Regions from separate parts of the Homo sapiens genome. Here region 2 is linked to region 1. Evidence: promoter capture Hi-C in 16 types of primary human blood cells and fetal thymus (Javierre and others, 2016). All regions are on one chromosome and are shown on one strand. The core of a region is centred on a gene start or on the middle of the fragment in contact, and the rest is flanking DNA. Distances in the headings are between cores, read along the strand shown.

The links. The method cuts DNA at HindIII sites, captures the fragments that hold promoters and counts their contacts. A CHiCAGO score of 5 or more calls a contact.
Region 2: a fragment that was not itself captured here is called in contact with the fragment with the promoter of SCNN1B in region 1 in 1 of 17 cell types (endothelial precursors); the score reaches 5.2 in endothelial precursors.

The regions. Positions count from the first base shown.
Region 1 is chr16:23,298,922-23,305,793 of GRCh38, reverse strand. It overlaps SCNN1B (sodium channel epithelial 1 subunit beta), which reads right to left and starts at 3,492. Exons shown (of 13, transcript NM_000336.3): 1 at 3,357-3,492. RefSeq lists enhancers at 3,260-3,776, 3,777-4,294. The HindIII fragment of the contact is 6,869 bases long and covers 2,869-6,872 here.
Region 2 is chr16:23,430,858-23,437,729 of GRCh38, reverse strand. COG7 (component of oligomeric golgi complex 7) reads left to right here. Exons shown (of 17, transcript NM_153603.4): 5 at 3,012-3,094; 6 at 4,063-4,185. Among named protein-coding and RNA genes, the nearest start is that of COG7, 19 kb to the left of the region's middle. The HindIII fragment of the contact is 941 bases long and covers 3,733-4,673 here.

The DNA of each region.
Region 1 (6,872 bases), core at 2,243-4,742:
GGCCCAGAGTTGCCAGCTTTTCTTTTCTTTCTTTCTTTTCCTTTTTTGAGGCAGGGTCTCACTCTGTTGCCCAAGCTGGAGTACAACTGTGTGATCACAGCTCACTGTAGTCTCAACCTCCTGGGCTCAGGGGAGCCTCTCACCTCAGCTTCCCCTGTAGCTGGGACTGTAGGTACATGCCACCACACCCAGGTTATATATATATATATATATATAATATATATATATATATATATATATATATATATATATATATATAATATATATATTTGGTAGAGATGGGTTTTTGCCATGTTGCTCAGACTGATATTGATCTCCTAAGCTCAAGCAACTCGCTGGTCTCGATCTCCTAAGCTCAAACAACCCACCCTCCTTGGTCTCCCAAAGTGCTGGGATTACAGGTGTGAACCACCATGCCTGGCCATTGCCAGCTTTACTGATATCTCAAGAGGATCCAGAAATATGGAGTCTTATATGAACTGATTTTTAAAATCTTGGGAATAATCTAAAAATTTAAAAGTCCACAGGCCTTCTTTGTGACTTTTGCTATCTCTTGTATTCCAAAGGGGAGCACCTCAGCTCACTTCATTTCTGTGTCTTAACCCAGGACCAGGCACACCTTAGGCCTTTTGTAAGTAACATGACACTTCTGGACTCCACAGTAAGCTGGGCTTGGCTCTCAACAAGCGGAAATCTCTTCTTTGGCTCAGGGCTCAGTGCAAAGGACCCTCTGGTCTGTACTTGGGGTGTGGATGAAGTCACAAACAGTGGCTCTAGGCATCACCCCTGCGTCCCCCCACCACCCAAGGGCCATCTCCAGGTCTCCCCTGTTCAGGAAAAGACTTCCTGCTTACTGATGCTGATGAGTCCCTAAGCATTTTATTTACATCACCCCACTAATCCACCTAACAGTTTGGGGAGGGTGCCATTATTATCATGCCCATTTTACAGATGTGAAAACTACGGCTCAGGGAGGGGAAGGGAATTGCCTGAACTAGGAAGGGGTGAAGCTGGGATTATAATGTAGTGTCTCTGATTCTAGCTTTTCATCAACCCAGATCATGGGTTCCACCAAACTTTTAAGGGTCCTGTCAGTCTATAGCAAACACACTCTCTTTAGGCCACAGCCTGGACCTACAGTTTGTGGTACACAAACAGGACCCTGGACAGTCCAATCTGCCAGTCCGTGGTTCGTGGTTCTCAGCTCCTTCTGTCTGCTATTGGAGGCTGAGTTTGGCTTTGGAGGGCATCTAGAGAGAACCCCTGGAGGTGGCCCCGATGGAACCTCTGCCCATTGGGGCATGGCCAGGCAGAACTAGTGGCCTGGCTGAGTCTCAGCCTTAGGGACCTGCAGAGACTGCAGCTAGAGAAAGTGTGGTGTTTGTCCTTGGTCATAGACAGAATAGAGGTGTGTGCACACACCTGTGTGTGTGTATGCATGCATGTACACTTGCTTGTGTGTATGTCTCATGTATGTGTGCCCGTGTGTGCTTGTGTGTGAACATGCATATGTACACACATGTGTGCATGTGTGTGTGTGCATGCATTCATGGGTCCGTATGTGAGCAGTGGAAAAGAGAGGACCTCATCCCCTAAATTCAGATCCTGTGAAGTTAGTTTAGGATAAAGAAAAATAAATTGAACTTAACCCAGAGATAACAATTTATAGAAGATGCTGAAATAAAAACCAACCTGAAAATTTTTGTCACCTAAATTCCCATCGGTAGGCATTATCCACGGCGGGAATCCATGCAGCAGTTTAAATAAATAAGCTGGGTTTATATGCAGCAGCATGGATAACTGGTGATGAGAGGGCTCAAGTTGCAGAATGACATAGGTGGGTTGTACCATTTCTACTTCTAGTTCTATTTTTCTGAAACAGAGTCTTGCTCTTTCACTCAGGCTAGAGTGCAATGGTGCCATCTCAGCTCACTGCAACCTCCACCTCCTGGGTTCAAGCGATCCACCTGCGTCAGCCTCCTGAGTAGCTGGGATTACAGGCACATACCACTATGCCCGGCTAATTTTTTTTTTTTTTTTTGTAGAAATGGGGTTTCACCATGTAGGCTGGGCTGGTCTCAAACTCCTGACCTCAAGTGATCCGCCCTCCTCAGCCTCCCAAGGGTTGCATCATTTCTATTAAATATCCACCTACAACATTACTACATTACTAAGTATTTTACATATTTTCTATGGCTCTGTATATATGACTGTGTAGGTGGGGGAAAGGGTCTAGAAGGAAACACTCCAAATTATGAAGGTGTTTACCTTTGGGGAGCTGGGAGGGCAGGGGTGGAAGATTACAGAGGAAGAAGAATGGATCCCTGTGTTCTGCATGGAATTACACAGCTCAATGGGTAGGCAGGTTGGGTCACTCACGGATGCTGGGATCTGAGACAGGGGTGCTCAGGTCTCTGGGAGCTTTCAGACCCATCCACCCGGCTTTGTGAGAGCTGGGCTGCCAGGGACCAAAGCCAGTCTTGGTTGTTCTGCCCCTACTCCCTGGTGGAGGTGAGTGGGAAGATGTGCCTTTTGTGGACTGGAGGTCTCTGCTGCTTCCTCCCTAAACTCTGTGCCTCATTTTCCCCCTCCACGCTAGAGTGAGAATGTCCCTGTACTATATCCCAGACCCTTTCCCTCCACAGCACACCTAAGTCATATGACATTGTCCAGACATCAACTTAGCACTTGAGAATCCTCAGCGCAGACAACTGCAGGGCGTTCGGATCTGGCCTCCTCCACCACATCACCCCAAATGAAACCCACGTTCCCCGGACGCCACTGACAGCCCACGAGGTAGGCTCCAGGGTCGGACTGCCTGGGTTCAAATCTGAGCTCAGCAACTTGTTCCTGGGACGTAGGGAAGCTTCCCCACCCTCTGACCCTCAGTTTGCACCTCTGCAAAATGGGGACAGCAAGAGAACCACCCCACAGGGATGCCCTGTGAGCGAAGTTAGGTCGTTTGAGCAAGGCGCTCTGCTGAGCTGTGCCCAGCACGTAGAAAGCGCTCTCGAGTTTCATTGTTGTCACCTCTTGAACAACTTCTTGCCCCGCCCACTCTATGCCAGGACTTTGCCGCCGTCTCTGAGGTCCCAGACACGCCGGGGACCCTGGCCCCGTCTGCCTTCTGCACCCTGGGGGCTTTTCCCAGCCTCCAGCTCTCCCCTCCGCCCCCAACCCGTTCAGTCCCCAGGCCGGGTCCCAGGCGCCTCAGACAGGCACCCAAGCGCCCTCCCGTGGGAAACTGAGGCCGGGACAGGAGCTCGCGGGCCGGGGTTGGGCAGGAGAAGGCGCGCGCGCAGGGACTCCGGGCAGCGCGCGGGAGACCGGGTGCGAGCCAGGGTTCGCCGTCATACCTGCTCGGGCGGCGGAGCGGGGACACGGAGGATGCGCGCTGTCGGCGGTGGCGGAGGCGGCGGTGCGCGCCAAGCTGGCGGCGGCGGCCGAGTGTTGGTGACACTGGGACACCCGGCGAGCGCGGCGAGACCGACTGGGAGGGAGCAGGTTCAGGGGCGGGGAAGCACGGGGAGCGCCCGCGGGTGGAGCTTACTGGGCGCTACCGGCCTGGCCACACGCACGGTCCCGGCTCCCCTGGCCACCTCCCTCGCCTCCCAATAAGCTCCAGCCCCCACACGCCAGGTTCAGGGACACTGGACGCCCCCCGCACGCACGCGCTCCGCATTCTCCCTCCCCACCTCGGGACACCAGCGATACCCACATGCGCCACGAATATGTCCACAGACCCCTCATCCGAGTGTACCCCACGTCCCCTCAGTACATATCACAAGCCACATATATGAACACTCCATCCCACCCCACGCGTGTACCTGTCCCGTTCACCTAGGCGAAGCATCGCGCTCACCAGTACAGGCGCGCCCCCATCACATCCACACCCCTGCAGACACAGTGTCCTCTGGGCAAGTTGGTGACTTTAGGGGGACATATGCAGCCACTTTTCCCAGGAACGTTCTTCCCTCCGCCTCTTCCACCTCCACCAAGGTGGAGACCTCCCAGATCTCAGTCATCCCCGATAGGTCCTATCTTTGCATTAGAAATTCAAACAGCCCACCCCGAGATTGGGAACTCTGGCCCCCTCTGGAGTGCCCACTACACCTGTGCTCTAGCCTCAGGGCACTGGCGGGCCTTGCGCATTTCCTCGAATCTTCCCTTCCTTTTCTTTTCTCTTCTCATCAAGTCAAGGTTTCAGGACTATCATTTCAGCCACTTTCTTGCCAATATCCTTAACACTTAGTTTCCTGTATATTTCTCCATAGATTGTCTTAATGCAGTCATTCTCAAAATTTTTGGTCTTAGGAATCTTTTGTATTTTTCTTTTCTTTTCTTTCTTTCTCTTTCCTTTCTTTCTCTCTCTCTCTCTCCACCTCCCTCCCTCCCTACCTCTCTCTTTCTTCTTTCTTTCTTTCTTTTTTTTTTGACAGAGTCTCACTCTGTTGCCCAGGCTGGAGTGCAGTGGTGTCATCTCAGCTCACTGTAACCTCCACTTCCCGGAATCAAGCAATTCTCCTGCCTCAGCCTCCCTAGTAGCTGGGATTACAGGCATGCACCACCATGCCCGGCTAATTTGTGTTTTTTGTAGAGATGGGTTTTCTTCATATTGGCCAGGCTGGTCTGGAACTCCTGGACTCAAGTGATCCACCCGCCTCGGGCTCCCAAAGTGTTGGGATTACAGGTGTGAGCCACCATGCCCAGCCAGGAATCTTCTGTACTTTTAAAAATTACAGAATACCTGAGACTTTTTGTTTATGTGGAATACACACACACACACACACACACACACACGTGTTTTTAACACATATATGTTATTTTGTTTATATAATGATACTTTCCATATGAGAAACTAAAACTGATACCTAAAAATATTTATTAATGCATTACACTATAATAAACCCACTACTTGTTGACATAAATAAAAGGCTTTTTTACAATTTTTTTCTTTTTTTGGTAAAGAGAGACAGGGTCTCAATTTGTTGCCCAGGCTAGAGCGCAGTGGTGTGACCCCTGCAGCCTCAAACTCTTGGGCTCAAGCCATCTTCCTGCCTTAGCTGGGACTACAAGGTGTGTGTGCCACTGCTTCCGGCTAATTAAAAAAAGTTTATTTTTCTGGAGACAAAGTCTTGCTGTGTTACCCAAGCTGGTCTCAAATACCTGGCCTCAAGCAATCTTCCCACTTCAGCCTCCCAAAGAGCTGAGATAACAGGTGTGAGCCATCATGCCTGGCTGAAAAATATTTTTCAAAAAAAAAAAATCAGTGGGAAGGGCACTGTTTAGCATTTTTGCAAATCTCTTTAATGCTTGGCTTAATAAGAGACAGCTGGATTCTCGTATTCAGTCGGCTGCAATCTGTTGTTTTAGTTGAAGTAAATGAAGTAAATTCAGCTTCATATAACTTGACCCACCATTGCTTTTTTTTTCAGTCTTTTTTATTTATTATTATTATACTTTAAGTTCTGGGATACATGTGCAGAACGTGCAGGTTTGTTACACAGGTATACACGTGCCATGGTGGTTTGCTGCACCCATCAACCCATCATCTACATTAGGTATTTCTCCTAATGCTCTCCGTCCCCTAGCCCTCCACCCCCTGACAGGCTCTGGTGTGTGATGCTCCCCTCCCTGTGTCCATGTGTTCTCATTGTTCAACTCCCACTTATGAGTGAGAACATGCAGTGTTTGGTTTTCTGTTCCTGTGTCAGTTTGCTGAGAGTGATGGTTTCCAGCTTCATCCATGTCCCTGCAAAGGACATGAACTCATCCTTTTTTATGGCTGCATAGTATTTCATGGTGTATATGTGCCACATTTTCTTTATCCAGTCTATCATTGATGGGCATTTGGGTTGGTTCCAAGTCTTTGCTATTGTGAATAGTGCCGCAATAAACATACATGTGCATGTGTCTTTATAGCAGCATGATTTATAATCCTTTGGGTATATACCCAGTAACGGGACTGCTGAGTCAAATGGTATTTCTTGTTCTAGATCCTTGAGGAATCGCGATACTGTCTTCCACAATGGTTGAACTAATTTACACTCCAACCAACAGTGTAAAAGCGTTCCTATTTCTCCACATCCTCTCCAGCATCTGTTGTTTCCTGACTTTTTAATGATTGCCATTCTAACTGGTGTGAGATGGTATCTCATTGTGGTTTTGATTTGCATTTCTGTAATGACCAGTGATGACCTACCATTGCTTTTGCACTGTCAGGGAAAATGTCCACAGGTGAAAAAGGCAAATAACATCTTAGGATTCTTATGAAAGTGATTTTGACCTCACAGTTTCTCCTGAAAGGATCTCTGGGACCTCCCAGGGGTCTGTGGACCTCACTTTGAAAATCAATGCTTCCCAGGTGTATTTGGTTGTGACCATATAAAATTGTTGATATTTGACTATTATTGACCTATGAAAATAGCAATTTCGGCTGGGCGGGGTGGCTAATGCCTGTAATCCTAGCACTTTGGGAGGCCAAGGTGGGCGGATTGCCTGAGCTCAGGAGTTCGAGACCAGCCTGGGCAACATGGTGAAGCCCCATCTCTACTAAAATACAAAAAATTAGCCAGGCATGGTGGTGCGCACCTGTAATCCCAGCTTCTCAAGAGGCTGAGGTGGGAGAATCACTTGAACCCGGGAGGCGGAGGTTGCAGTGAGCCAAGATTGTGCCACTGCACTCTAGCCTGGGTGACAGAGTGAGACTCAATCTCGAAAAAAAAAAAAAAAAAGAAAAAGAAAAAGCAAAAAGCAAAAAAAAGAACATAGCAATTTCATATGGTTCAACCCAATACGTTATTTTTGAAGGTTTTCTTTTGGGGCCCTGTTGGACAGTTTTAGAATGAGTCCCCTGTGGAACTGTGCTGTTG
Region 2 (6,872 bases), core at 2,954-5,453, 130 kb before region 1:
GATTCATGTTTGTGTGTGATAGTGCTTTTGTTCTGGGCCTGGTATTCACTGAAAAATAGTGGAATTTCCTTGGAAGCCCCTCCTTGTTTAAGAGCGCTTTCCTTTAGCCCTTGATTGAAAGTTTATATTCTCCGCTGTGCTCTTCAGTTAGCTAGAGAGAATGGCCTCAGTACTCATCTCCAGCCCTGTAATTCCCTCTCTTCCTCATTTGTTAATTCTTTATTTTGAGTCTTTTCTTCATTCACAGAATTCTAAGGCTGGAGCTGGGGGGTTGGAAAGTTACCATCTAGGAGCTTTGTTCCTCACATTCTCTTGTGAATTTGTGGCTACTACAGAGCTCACTTTTCTGGTTGGGGTTACATCCAGTTCTGTGGGGTTGGGGGAGTGGGAGTGGGGATGGAGAGGTGGTGGCTCCATGCATTTAAGCTTTTTTGTTTGTTTCCTTCTGAGTGAGCTGGCTTCTGGGAGCTGGTGTTGGATTTGAGTGATGCCTGGTGGTTCAGCATCATGGGTTTGGTTTTGGAGATAAGCAGTTTTTGACAGCTTTTGTGCACAAATTTGAATCAGGCTTGACTCTAGGCAGGACATGGATTCAGAAGGCGAAAATGGCGCTTTTGAGCTCCATAGGCTGCCTCCTCTGCTGGGCCGCAGTGGAAACAGCCCTCCCTCCCATGCCTGGCCCAAGCCCCCTTGGCCCCCAGTCTTTGGCCCTTTGTACTGTTCTGCACCACCCTTAGCGCCCAGACTTTTACCAGCTTCCCCACCCATTGTGGCCCAAAGTGATTAGATATCTAGTTGGGATTCTCTGAAATATGTAGTACAGATATTTTCCTGGCTTCAACGCAGATAAAACAATGTTTTCTTTTGGTGATTAATCTTAATTTTGGCAAGCATCAGGAAGGGTTCCCCCGCCCCACAGGTAATGTGCTGTTTATAATCAGCCATGTTTCCTGGAAGGCTGAGGTAGTTCTTTATCTAACAGTTTTTACTTTTTATTTTTTTTGAGACAGAGTCTACACTCTGTTGCCCAGGCTGGACTGCAGTGGTGTGATCTCGGCTCACAGCAACCTCCAGCTCTTGGGTTCAAGCGCCTCAGCTTCTGGAGTAGCTGGGATTACAGGCATGCACCACCACGCCTGGTTAATTTTTTATATTTTTAGTAGAGACGGGGTTTCACCATATTGGCCAGGCTGGTCTCGAGCTCCTGACCCCAGATGATCCACCCACTTCAGCCTCCCAAAGTACTGGGATTATAGTCATGAGCCACCTCACCCGGCCTAGCTAACAGTTTTTAAAGGGAATTCTCTGATAAATTTGTTCATCCCCAACATGTTCCCCTTTTCCATCTCCTAAAATGACAATGTGAGTATAGCCAAGTATACATGCCCAGTTCATTTTATATAACCAATGAATTCAGCTGATACACTGAAGCAACTTTTTATAGAATTATTTTAATTAATTTTTTTGCTTCTCACTGGTCAAACCCAATTTATAGAATTTTGTTTTTTGAGCTAGAATCTTGCTCTGTCACTCAGGCTGAAGTGCAGTGATGTGATCACAGTTCACTGCAGCCTTGTCCTCCCAGGCTCAAGTGATACTCCCAGCTCAGCCTCCTGGGGTTTACAGGTGCACATCATGCCCAGCTAATTTTTTCTATTTTTTGTAGAGGGGTCCTGTGTTGCCTAGGACATTTTTGAACTCCTGGGCTCAAACAGTCCTCCCACCTCAGCCTCCCAAAATGCTGGGATTACAGGTGTGAGCCACCACACCTGGCCTATGGAATAATTTTAAATGTAACAGGAAGATTCACTTATTTAAGTGTTCTTATGAAAATAATAAGCATTTTAAAGGCAAATATTCGTTTTCTAACTCATGGATTTCTGCCCATTAAGTCAAGTTCCACTGGCAGGTCTCCAGCGCTTAGCTGGGTGTCCCACAGCGGTTGCTGTTACAACATTTCCTTCTCAGCAGTTTATTGGGCTTCCCAGAAGTGAAGGGGAACAGAGCAAATATAAGAAGTTTGGAGACCTGTTAGCTCAAGGCTTTTTTTTCCCTTCTTTTGATATAGTTCTAAGGCTGTGGCATGTACATTTTGGCCAGAAGGGGGCGGACAGGAGCCAGAGGTGGCGCTGCTGTGCACACTATTCAGAGACTGCACTGAAACCCACCTTCCTGTCTGTCCAGCGGTGAGCCTGGAAGCAAGTGCTTTGCCCAGTCATTTCCTCTGCCCTTAGGGAAATATGTCAGAAACTACTTGATATTAAGCCCATAACTTGGGTCTTAGAATCCATTGTTATGTGTGGAATGCTAATAGTTACCAAATTATTTGATTTTATGTTTTGTTTTTTTGTTTTGCTTTGTTTTAGAGGGAGTCTTGCTCTGTTGGCCAGGCTGGAGTGCAGTGGCGCGATCTTGGCTCACTGCAACCTCTGCCTCCCGGGTTCAACCAATTCTCCTCCCTCAGCCTCCCAAGGAGCTGGGATTACAGGTGTGCACCACCACGCTCAGCTAATTTTTGTTTTTCTTTTAGTAGAGATGGGGTTTTGCCATGTTGGCCAGGCTGGTCTCGAACTCCTGACCTCAGGTGATCCGCCTGCCTTAGCCTCCCAAAGTGCTGGGATTACAGGCATGAGCTACCGCGACCAGCCCAAATTATTTACTTATTCCTCAAACCACCAGATATGTTGACATATAGCAGTTCAGTGTGTTTGCTTTTTTAAAGTTCCCATCTGGTATAATCGAAGTAGGAATTTTGAAAGACATAAATAACCTCTCAGTATCATGTTAAAATATGAATTCTGTGAGGAACAGTGGGGAATACCTTGCAGTATCTGGTTTTCACGTCATGCTTATTTTTCAAATTTATGATCCTCATGCATGAGTTAATTCAGTATCTAGGCAGGAACTTGTGAATACTAGCTTCCATATATCCACCTTCATCCTGGTGAGTTTTTTCTCATGTCTACACCAGAAAGGCTGGTAACAGTATATATACATTGTATGTTCTTTAGATCAGTCCAAAGTGTTTGTGAAGGTGTTTACTGAAATTGACCGGATGCCCCAGCTCCTGGCCTACTACTACAAGTGTCACAAGGTAAGAAGCTGTGCGCGATGACAGTTGTGCAGTTGTGGAATGCTCATAACTCTGGGTCACAGAATCGCAGGTTCATAATTCAGAAGGTAAGAACATTTGTCTCCTTGCCCTCTGGCTGTTTTTCTCTTAGTTAGCCAGTAGGGGGTGCTCTTGGTCTAGCATATGGATTTGTTTAATTGCCAGTTGGAAAAAGTTATCCGTTTTCATTCTCTTTTCTGTTTACAGCTGGATTCATTATAGACTTGAAACGTTGTTTTAATTTATTCTCATTTTTGTCTTTTAAGGGAGATTTATGTCTTAAGCTTTATTACACCCTCAGAAGGCAGTAAGAATTTCTCTTTTTTTCTTTAGAGATAGGGTTTCACTATTTTGCCCAGCCTGGAGTGCGGTGACTATTCACAGATCCGATCATGGTGCACTACAGCCTTGAACTCCTGGGCTCAAGTGATCCTCCCGTCTCAGCCTTGTGAGGAGTTGGGACTACAGGCGCGTGCCACTCCACCTGGCTTGGAATTTTATGTTTTCTAGGTTTGCTGAAGTTAGATTGCCAAAAAACTTGACAGCTTCCTGAACTGACCTTAATTCCTTCAAGTCCAGTGCTCTGTGTCTTTTAAGCAGTGATGTTAGGACATGAAGCTTAAACATACATGTCTGCCCGCTCTTGCCCCAACATCTATTCAGAAGAGTGATGGTGTGCCAAGTGGTTGCACATTACATGTTTTTAGGGCAGGATAAATGGAGAGGGGATCACATCCGCAGGGTGACAGATTAAAGCTGTGAATCAGTGCAGATAACTGCAAATGTTTTTTTTTTTTTCCTGCCTTTCTTTGAAGTGAATGGACCTCACTGGGCTGCCCAGTGAGCCCATTGAGCAATCCGTGATTACGCTGGGTAGCAGGGCAGGGCAGTGTTCACAGGCAACCTATGTTGACGTACCCAATAAGGTTCCCTTTGTTCTGTCTCTGCAGGTGCAGCTTTTAGCAGCCTGGCAAGAGCTGTGTCAAAGTGACCTATCCCTGGACCGGCAGCTTACCGGACTCTATGATGCCTTGCTTGGTGCTTGGCACACACAAATCCAGTGGGCTACACAGGTAACAGCTCATTTTTGTTCTAGGGAGAACAGAGTCTGTGGTGACAAGGGAACGGGTGACTGCCTCGGGAGTGGCCACCCTCAACTGCAGAGCACAGCTCAAAGAACTTCCCCGTTTGTTGCTGTCATTCAAGGGGTTAAAAAATAACCAGTTAGGCCGGGTGCGGTGGCTCACACTTGTAATCACCACACTTTGGAAGGTCGAAGTGGGCGGATCGTTTGAGCCTAGGAGTTCGAGACCAGCCTGGCCAACACGGTGAAACCCCAACTCTACAAAAAATGCAAAAGTTAGCCAGGTGTGGTGGCACAATTACTAAGGAGACCGAGGCAGGAAGATTGCTTACGTCCAGGAGGTTGAGGCCACAGTGACTATGGTCGCACCACTACACTTCAGCTTGGACAACAGAGCAAGCAAGACTGTCTCAAACAAACAAACAACAAAAGAAAAAACGATAACCAGTTAAATGGTTTAAGTTTAAAAGATAAGCTTAGAAATCCACGTCAGTGAAATCTTTAGGTCTCCACTGAAACTCTTCTTACCACTCTTATCTATAACTTAAATAGGACCTAATGTGACAATGCCGCCTGTTGTCCAGCAAGGGAGCCTGTGGAATTCCTGAAGGCCATTTTCTTCCCATCTAAAAGCAGGAGGCCCCTCGTCAGGTGGTGTTCGAATGAACAGGAATGTTTTTATCTTTACTTCAGGTAAAATTTACCTACCTGAAGTGAGTCTCCCTTGTTCTCATGATACACCAAGAAGTAGGGGAAGAGATAATTTTAAAGGTACCCCCTGACTAGGAGTGAGGAGAGACAGAGGAACTTTGTTTCAAGTGGCAACTATCCATCATTTACTTTCCTCAAGTCTCTAGGCATTTCCAGCCATAAAGGTTTTAAACCGTTGTTCTCTTGCCTTGAGACAGGAGGCACAGTAGAACCTCTTGTAAGCAGGGGAAGAGCCTGTCTTACTTTGCAGTAATGACTTACTGGGCCTGTTTCTAGTGTGGCTTATTTTATTTATTTTTTTCTTATTTATTTATTTTTTTTCTCCAAACCCTTGTGTTGAGGGCTGATTTTCAATAGCACTCAGATAGAGAGCTATTGAAATAGATTGCAGTGAGGGAGCTGCTCTGCTATGTACGAAACCCCAACCTAGAAGCAGGTCATCTACGAGTGGTTTAGTGTCACGTTCCCCATATTTTATTTTTTACTATAGTTGTGAATCACTCTTCAGATGTTCATCAGTCATTTGCTGGAATGAATTTGACTAAGGTTGGAGAGAATTCCTTATACCGGGTCATGTCATTCAAGTTGTTGGTTAAAGCACTTTTCTCCATCCTTGTTCTTTTTCCTTGAACTAACCTAATTCATTCTTAGGATTTTGTTTTGTTTTGTTTTGTTTGAGACAGAGTCTTGCTCTGTCATGCAGGCTAGAGTGCAGTGGCATGATCATGGCTCACTGCAGCCTCGGCCTCCTGGGTTCAAGCTGTCCTCCTGCCTGAGCCTTTCAAGTAGCTAGGAATACACGTATGTGCCACCATGCCTGGCTAATTAAAAAAAATTTTTTTTGTAGAGATAAGGATCTCACTGTGTTGCCCAGGCTGGTCTCTAACTCCTGGCCTCAAGTAATCCTCCCACTTTGGCCTCCCAAAGTGCTGGGATTACAGGCATGAGCCACCATGCCTGACTTTATTTTATTTTTCTTAAGAAGAATATTTCTTTTTTTTTTTTTTTTTTCTTCAGACAGAGTCTTGCTCTGTCACCCAGGCTGGAGTGCAGGGACACAATCTTGGCTCCCTGCAACCTCCGCCTCTCTGGTTCAAGCAATTCTCCTGCCTCAGCCTCCTGAGTAGCTGGGATTACAGGCATCCGCCACCACTCCCAGCTAATTTTTGTGTTTTTAGTACAGATGGGGTTTCACCATGTTGGCTGGGCTGGTCTCGAACTCCTGACCTCAAATGACCACCCACCTCGACCTCCCAAAGTGCTGGGATTACAGGCATGAGCCACTGTGCCCGGCCAAGAAAAAAATTATTCATGTGTTCTTGCCTCTTCTACTACTTCTTGTATCACAAGGATAAAAACAGTTCATGTCCATACATACGAATGCCTTTCGTCATCTAAGAAAAAGAACTTAGACTTCTCAGACTTCTCTTTGGGCCTCATCCTAGATTTTGGGAGACATGAGTTTCTGCTGATTTATACTGTTGGCCTGTGGCCCATTTTCTTTTCAGGATGGAAGCATAATAGTTGGGCTGTCCCCTCCTGAAGGTCGGTATAGCACACAGGAGCCAGGGCACATGTGTCTCCTTCAGATTTTTCCCCTTAGCATTTTCATATGAGAAATTTCCAATATATAAAAATGTTGAGGGAATTGTACAGTGAATACCCATGTAGCCACCTCCTACGTTGTACAGTGTGCATTTTGCTCTATTTGCTTTATTGCAGATCTGCCTGTCTATCCCTGTCTCTGTCTGTTCATTAATCCATCTTATTTTTTAAAATTATTTTTATTTGTATTCTTTTTTATATAAAAATATTAAATTAAACAGAGATGGGGTCTCACTATGTTGCCCAGGCTGGTGTCGAACTCCTGGGCTCAAGTGATCTTCCCGCCTCAGCCTCCCAAAGTGCTAGGATTACAGACATGAGCCAAAGTGCCCAGTCAATCATCTTATTTGTTTTACTCAT